Regions from separate parts of the Homo sapiens genome. Here region 2 is linked to region 1. The links are contacts of gene promoters, found by promoter capture Hi-C in human tissues and cell types (Jung and others, 2019). All regions are on one chromosome and are shown on one strand. Each heading gives the region's core, a stretch centred on a gene start or on the middle of the fragment in contact. The rest is flanking DNA. Distances are from core to core; before and after follow the strand shown. Region 1 holds the start of MRI1 (methylthioribose-1-phosphate isomerase 1). Region 2 overlaps CC2D1A (coiled-coil and C2 domain containing 1A).

Region 1 (3,122 bases), core at 203-2,702:
CGATCCCCATCCTGGAGACTGGACCCGCTCTAGAGGCCCGGACACACCCAGGAGGCCCCTCACAGACTGCAGACCCCCGGCTCGCCCACCAGCCCTGGGAGAGCTCAGATGCCGCATCCTCCCCAGACCGCGCCTTCCTGCAACCGTGGAGTTATTTATTTGGTCCTGGTGAGGGTGTTTGTGCCTTGTGAGACTCCGTACATTAAAGACCTGTCTCTTCTTCCCTGTCTTGGGTTGTTAGATGGACCCTGGGGCTGCCCCCCCACCCCCCCACCTTGACCAAGCTTGGTAGGCCTCTCATCAGCAAATGCTGGTATAGGGTCATAGCTGTGACCACAGACATGGTCCCCTTCCAGAGTAACAAGAGTCTCAAGGTGGTGGTCCCGGTTGGCCAGGAATCAGGACAGACTTCCTGGAGGAGGAGGCATGGGCCAAGTGTGAAGGGTGAAAAGGGGGCCAGGAACCACACACACAAGGCCAGGGACAAGGCACACGGGGTACCCAGGATGTGTGCCAGATGCAGCAGGGGCTGGAGCACACAGGTGTGAGCTTTTTATTATACCCAGCCCAGGGGTGGCCCATGGAAAAGCCCCCCGTGCATGTTACTTTTGGGGTTTTTTTGTTTTGTTTTTGAGACCGAGTCTTGCTCTGTCACCCAGGCTGGAGTGCAGTGGCGCGATCTCGGCTCACTGCAACCTCTGCCTCCTGGGTTCAAGTGATTCTTCTGCCTCAGCCTCCCGAGCAGCTGGGACTACGGGTGTGCGCCACCACGCCCAGCTAATTTTTTGTATTTTTAGTAGAGACTGGGTTTCACCATGTTGGCCAGGCTGGTCTCGAACTCCTGACCTCAAGTGATCTGCCCGACTCGGCCTCCCAAAATGCTGGGATTCCAGGCGTGAGCCACAGCGCCTGTCCTGCATGTTACTTTTGAATGAAACCGAGCAGAAAATGGCCCAGAAACAGCCTTGCATCCATCAAGGGGCACACGACCCCCCACTACCTCCCCCTCAACCTTGGAAGATCATTTAACAAATTCTTTGGTTTGAACACTTGATGTTACCTTGCCACTGGGGATACATCCCTAACTCTAGACAGCAGGTTGTTAAACACGGGGCCTGGTATCCACTAGGCGTCCCATAAATGCTGCCACTTTTGTGGTTCCGAGGAGGCGGCTCACTCCGTTCGGGCTTGGCAGGAGTCGTGGAGTGGGTTCGGCCACGTGGAATCCGCGTCCTGGGAACCCGTGGAATCCGCGTCCTGGGAACCCGTGGAATCCGCCTCCTGGGAACCCGTGGAATCCGCCTCCTGGGAACCCGTGGAATCCGCCTCCTGGGAACCCGTGGAATCCGCCTCCTGGGAACCCGTGGAATCCGCCTCCTGGGAACCCGTGGAATCGGGTTGGATGCGCATGTGCGTGTCTCTTTTTCCGGGGGAGGCTCCGCCCACGGCCCCGCCCCGCTCCCAAGTGCGCGCGGACCCCTAGCTCCCTCTGAGTTGCGCTGGGCTTGGCTGCTGCACCATGACCCTGGAGGCGATCCGCTACTCGCGGGGCTCCCTGCAGATCCTAGACCAGCTGCTGCTGCCCAAGCAGAGCCGCTACGAGGCGGTGGGCTCGGTGCACCAGGCCTGGGAGGCCATCCGCGCCATGAAGGTGCAGCGGGGCGGCGGGGCGGCGGGGCGGCGGGGCGGCGGGGCGGCGGGGCGGCGGGGCGGCGGGGCGGCGGGGCGGCGGGGCGGCCGGGTTGGAGGTGGGAGTGCGCCCGCGCCTGCAGCTTCCGACGCCCAAATCCCTGCCCCGCAGGTGCGGGGCGCCCCGGCCATAGCCCTGGTGGGCTGTCTCAGCCTCGCCGTGGAGCTGCAGGCGGGCGCCGGGGGACCGGGACTCGCCGCGCTCGTGGCCTTCGTGCGCGACAAGCTGAGCTTCCTCGTCACCGCCCGGCCCACCGCTGTCAACATGGCCCGCGCCGCCCGCGACCTGGCTGATGTTGCAGCCCGGGAGGCCGAACGGGAGGGCGCTACGGAAGAGGCGGTCCGGGAGAGGTACGGGGATCTGGTACCAGGCACGGCGCTGAGCAGGAATTATATTGACTCTTTTTAAGTACAGTGACCCACTATACAGATGGGGAAACTGAGGCACGGCGACCTTAAGTCCCTTGTCCAGGGCCCCACAGATGGGGAGACTGAGGCACGGCGACCTTAAGTCCCTTGTCCAGGGCCCCACAGATGGGGCCCAGAGTCTAGCCTGGGCAGCCTGGCCCTGAAACCTAACTCCTTAATCGTGCCTCCCCTGAATACACGCAGCCCCTTATCCGCCCTTGGAGGCCCTTTTTAGTATCTCCGTGTTCTCTTGGTTTCTGCTTTTGAGGAACTTTTTTTCCTGTCCTGGTCCCCTTCCTGCCATCTTTTTCCCCCCACTTCCTTTCTGCTCCAGCCCTCCCTGCAATGTCACTTTACCCCACCAAGCTCGAGCCTGCCTTACAGCCTTTGCACGTGCCATTGGTGCGGGCCAGGTATCCATAGCGCCCTCCTCCACCATTCTATATGATCCAGCTCACCCGCTGCTCTCTGTTGCCTGATTCTGCCGGCTTTTCCTTCATTTTATTATCTCTTCATCAGCTGGCTCACTCACCCCAGTGTCAACTCCACAGGAGCAGAGATTTTTGTCTTGTTTACTGCTGGGTCATACCGGAACTGCTTGGTAAACATGTCTTTGCATGAATGAACGGAGTGACACTTCGGTGGCCCTGGCCGAAGGGTCCAGGCCCCACAGCAATGAGAGGCTTTGAGCAGGAGGGCTCCAGGACAGCAGCGTTAGGCAGAGAGGAGGCGTTGGCCTGGGCCCCGGGTCCTGGTGGCTGGTGCTGAAAACTCCTTGTCACCCCAGAGTGATCTGCTGCACCGAGGACATGCTGGAGAAAGACCTCAGAGACAACCGAAGCATTGGGGACCTAGGAGCCCGCCACCTCCTGGAGCGGGTGGCCCCCAGCGGTGGCAAGGTGACTGTGCTGACCCACTGTAACACTGGTGCTCTGGCCACCGCTGGCTATGGTACAGCCCTAGGTGAGAGGGCCTCCTCAGGGGGTAGGGGAGGGCCTTCTAGGAACTTTTTTAGATACAAGAGA
Region 2 (3,122 bases), core at 165-2,664, 150 kb after region 1:
CACACCCTCAGAACATTTTCTGATCTCCTGCAAGTGGTTCGGGCGCAGAACTGGGGGCACTGGGTAGGTAGGGGAAAGAAGACAGAGAAGACCCCTGTTCTCCTGGAGCCAATGATCTGGGTAAGAGAGTCAAGATCGACTCTGAGGCCGGGCACGGTGGCTCACGCCTGTAATCCCAGCACTTTGGGAGGCCGAGGCAGGCAGATCATGAGGTCAGGAGATTGAGACCATCCCGGCTAACACGGTGAAACTCTGTCTCTACTAAAAATACAAAAAAAAAAAAAAAATTAGCCGGGCGTGGTGGCGGGCGCCTGTAGTCCCAGCTACTCAGGAGGCTGAGGCAGAAGAATGGCGTGAACCAGGGAGGCGGAGCTTGCAGTGAGCCGAGATCGCACCACTGCGCTACAGCCTGGGCGACAGAGCAAGACTCCGTCTCAAAAAAAAAAAAAAAAAAAAAAAGATCAAGTCTGGACCGAGACTGAGAGTTGGAATCCGAGCTCTGCCACTTACTGGTTATGTGACTTGATGAGTCACATCATGTGCTTTGGCCTCAGTTTCACCATCTGTAAAACTGGAATAATAACCATGTTATAGGAGTTAATCTGGAGTCCATAAGTATTTCACCCAGGGCCCCCTCACACACAATAAGCTCATGTCAGCCAGGCACATTGGCTCATGCATGTAATCCCAGCACTCTGGGAGGCCAAGGTGGACAGATCACTTGGGGCCAGGAGTTCGAGACCAGCCTGGCCAACATGGTGAAACCCTGTCTTTACTAAAAATACAAAAATTAGCCAAGCTTGGTGGCGAACACCTGTAATCCCAGCTACTTGGGAGGCTGAGGCATGAGAATCGCTTGAATCCAGGAGGCAGCAGTTGCAGTGGGCAGAGATTGCGCCACTGCACTCCAGCCTGGGTGACAGAGCAAGATCCTGTTTCCAAAAAACAAAAAAGAGAGAAGCTTCATTCAGGCATGAACTACTGTGCTGTTGGCTGTGAATTCAAAGTTAATGAATGAACGATATCTATTCAGGAAGGTGTCTTCAAACAGAAACACACATAGAGCAAGGTTGTGTATTGATCAGTTGATTAAAATTTTGTGACCAGAGCTGGGTGTGGTGGTGCATGCCTGTAATCCCAGCTACTCGGGAGGCTGAGGCAGGAAGATCACTTGAGGCCAAGAGTTTGAGGCTGCAGTGAGCTCTGATTGGGCCACTGCACTCCAGCCTGGGTGACAGAGCAAGATCCTGTCTCCAAAAAAGGTTATGACTGGAGATTCACAGGAACCTAAGCTTAAATTTCCCCTAGGAGCAACAGTCTTATAGTCATTAATTTAGTCTTCAAAGCAGCTTTATAGAATGTAACATAACTAATAACAAGATATTGGCAATATGCTATTCTAAGAGCTTCATTGACCTTCTCTGCTCCAACCTACCTATGAAGGAGGAACTGTTGTCATCCCCGTGTCACAGAGGGAGAAACTGAGGCTCAGAGAGGTGACATCACTTGCCGAAGTTCTCACAGAGAGAAAGTTGCAGAGCTGGGGTTTTTTTTGTTGTTGTTGTGTGTGTGTGTTTTTTTTTTTTTTTTTGGAGACAAACCCTTGCTCTGTTGCCCAGGCTGCAGTGCAGTGGCGCAATCTCAGCTCACTGCGACCTCTGCCTCCTGGGCTTAAGTGATTCTCCTGCCTCAGCCTCTTTAGCAGCGGGGATTACACGCCACCATGCCCAGCTAATTTTTTTTTTTTTTTTTTTTTTTTTTTGAGACGGAGTCTCGCTCTGTCGCCCAGGCTGGAGTACAGTGGCGCGATCTTGGCTCACCGCAAGCTCCGCCTCCTAGGTTCACGCCATTCCCCTGCCTCAGGCTCCCGAGTAGCTGGGACCACAGGCGCCCGCCAGCATGCCTGGCTAATTTTTTGTATTTGTAGTAGAGACGGGGTTTCACCGTGTTAGCCAGGATGGTCTCGATCTCCTGACCTTGTGATCCACCCGCCTCGGCCTCCCAAAGTGCTGGGGTTACAGGCGTGAGCCACTGCGCCCAGCCTAATTTTTGTATTTTTAGTAGAGACAGGGTTTCACCATGTTGGCCAGGCTGGTCTTGAACGCCTGACTTCAAGTGATCCTTCTGCCTCGGCCTCCCAAAGTGCTGGGATTATAGGCGTGAGTCACTGTGCCCGGTCTGCAGAGCTGGGTTTTGAATTCAGGTAGCCAGGCCCCAGACCTGAGGCTGAATAAGGAAGAGATGAAATGGGGAAGTCAGCGAGAAGTGGGATCACCTAGCGTGTCCAGGATGGGAAATGGGGGCTCTTGGTGTACGACCCTGGTCCACCTGGGGCATCCCCCTACCGCCAGGTCCCTTGCCGATGGAGGCCATTGAGAAGATGGCCAGCCTGTGCATGAGAGACCCGGATGAGGATGAGGAGGAGGGGACGGATGAGGACGACTTGGAGGCTGATGATGACCTGCTGGTGAGCACTGAGGGCGGGGTGGGGGCTCTGATCCGGTTGCCCCCATCCAGCAGGCCCTTATATCCTGCCCTGGCTGTGTGTCCCTGCAGGCGGAGCTAAATGAGGTCCTTGGAGAGGAGCAGAAGGCTTCAGAGACCCCACCTCCTGTGGCCCAGGTACAGTTTGGATGACTCCACTCCCTTGAACCACAACCCAACGGACAGCCCGGGGTTCAAGACCTAGCCTTTTTTATGAGATGGAGTCTTGCTGTGTCACCCAGGCTGGAGTGCAGTGGTGCCATCTCAGCTCACTACAACCTCTGCCTCCCAGGTTCAAGGGATCCTCCCACCTCAGCCTCCCCAGTAGCTGGGATTACAGGTGTGTGCCACCACGCCTGGCTAATTTTTGTATTTTTTGGTAGAGATGGTGTTTCTCTGTGTTGGCCAGGCTGGTCCTGACCTCAAGTGATCCACCTGCCTTGGCCTCCCAAAGTGTTGGGATTACAGGCGTGAGCCACCGCGCCTGGCCCACCCTTATCCTTCACAGCCATGTGACCCATATCAGGTGGGTGACATGATGCTTCTGAAACCCCATTCCCTCCACTGGGAAATGGGGACCATGATTTCTGCCTCACTGGGGCAGGGGAGGCTGGTCCAGGGATGACATGGGGCCGACT

Evidence for each region. Contacts are between HindIII fragments. The study calls those that stand out against the background at their distance.
Region 2: a fragment that was not itself captured here is called in contact with the fragment with the promoter of MRI1 in region 1 in 1 of the 25 tissues and cell types used here (mesendoderm cells).

What each region holds. Positions count from the first base shown.
Region 1 is chr19:13,763,070-13,766,191 of GRCh38, forward strand. It overlaps MRI1 (methylthioribose-1-phosphate isomerase 1), which reads left to right and starts at 1,453. Exons shown (of 6, transcript NM_001031727.4): 1 at 1,453-1,651; 2 at 1,802-2,040; 3 at 2,885-3,060. The coding sequence starts at 1,520. It overlaps YJU2B (YJU2 splicing factor homolog B), which reads left to right. Exons shown (of 10, transcript NM_030818.4): 10 at 1-220. RefSeq lists enhancers at 1-180, 2,650-3,122 and a silencer at 1,823-1,872. The HindIII fragment of the contact is 13,832 bases long and covers 1-3,122 here.
Region 2 is chr19:13,909,972-13,913,093 of GRCh38, forward strand. CC2D1A (coiled-coil and C2 domain containing 1A) reads left to right here. Exons shown (of 29, transcript NM_017721.5): 3 at 2,352-2,467; 4 at 2,557-2,622. Among named protein-coding and RNA genes, the nearest start is that of CC2D1A, 5.3 kb to the left of the region's middle. The HindIII fragment of the contact is 5,078 bases long and covers 1-3,122 here.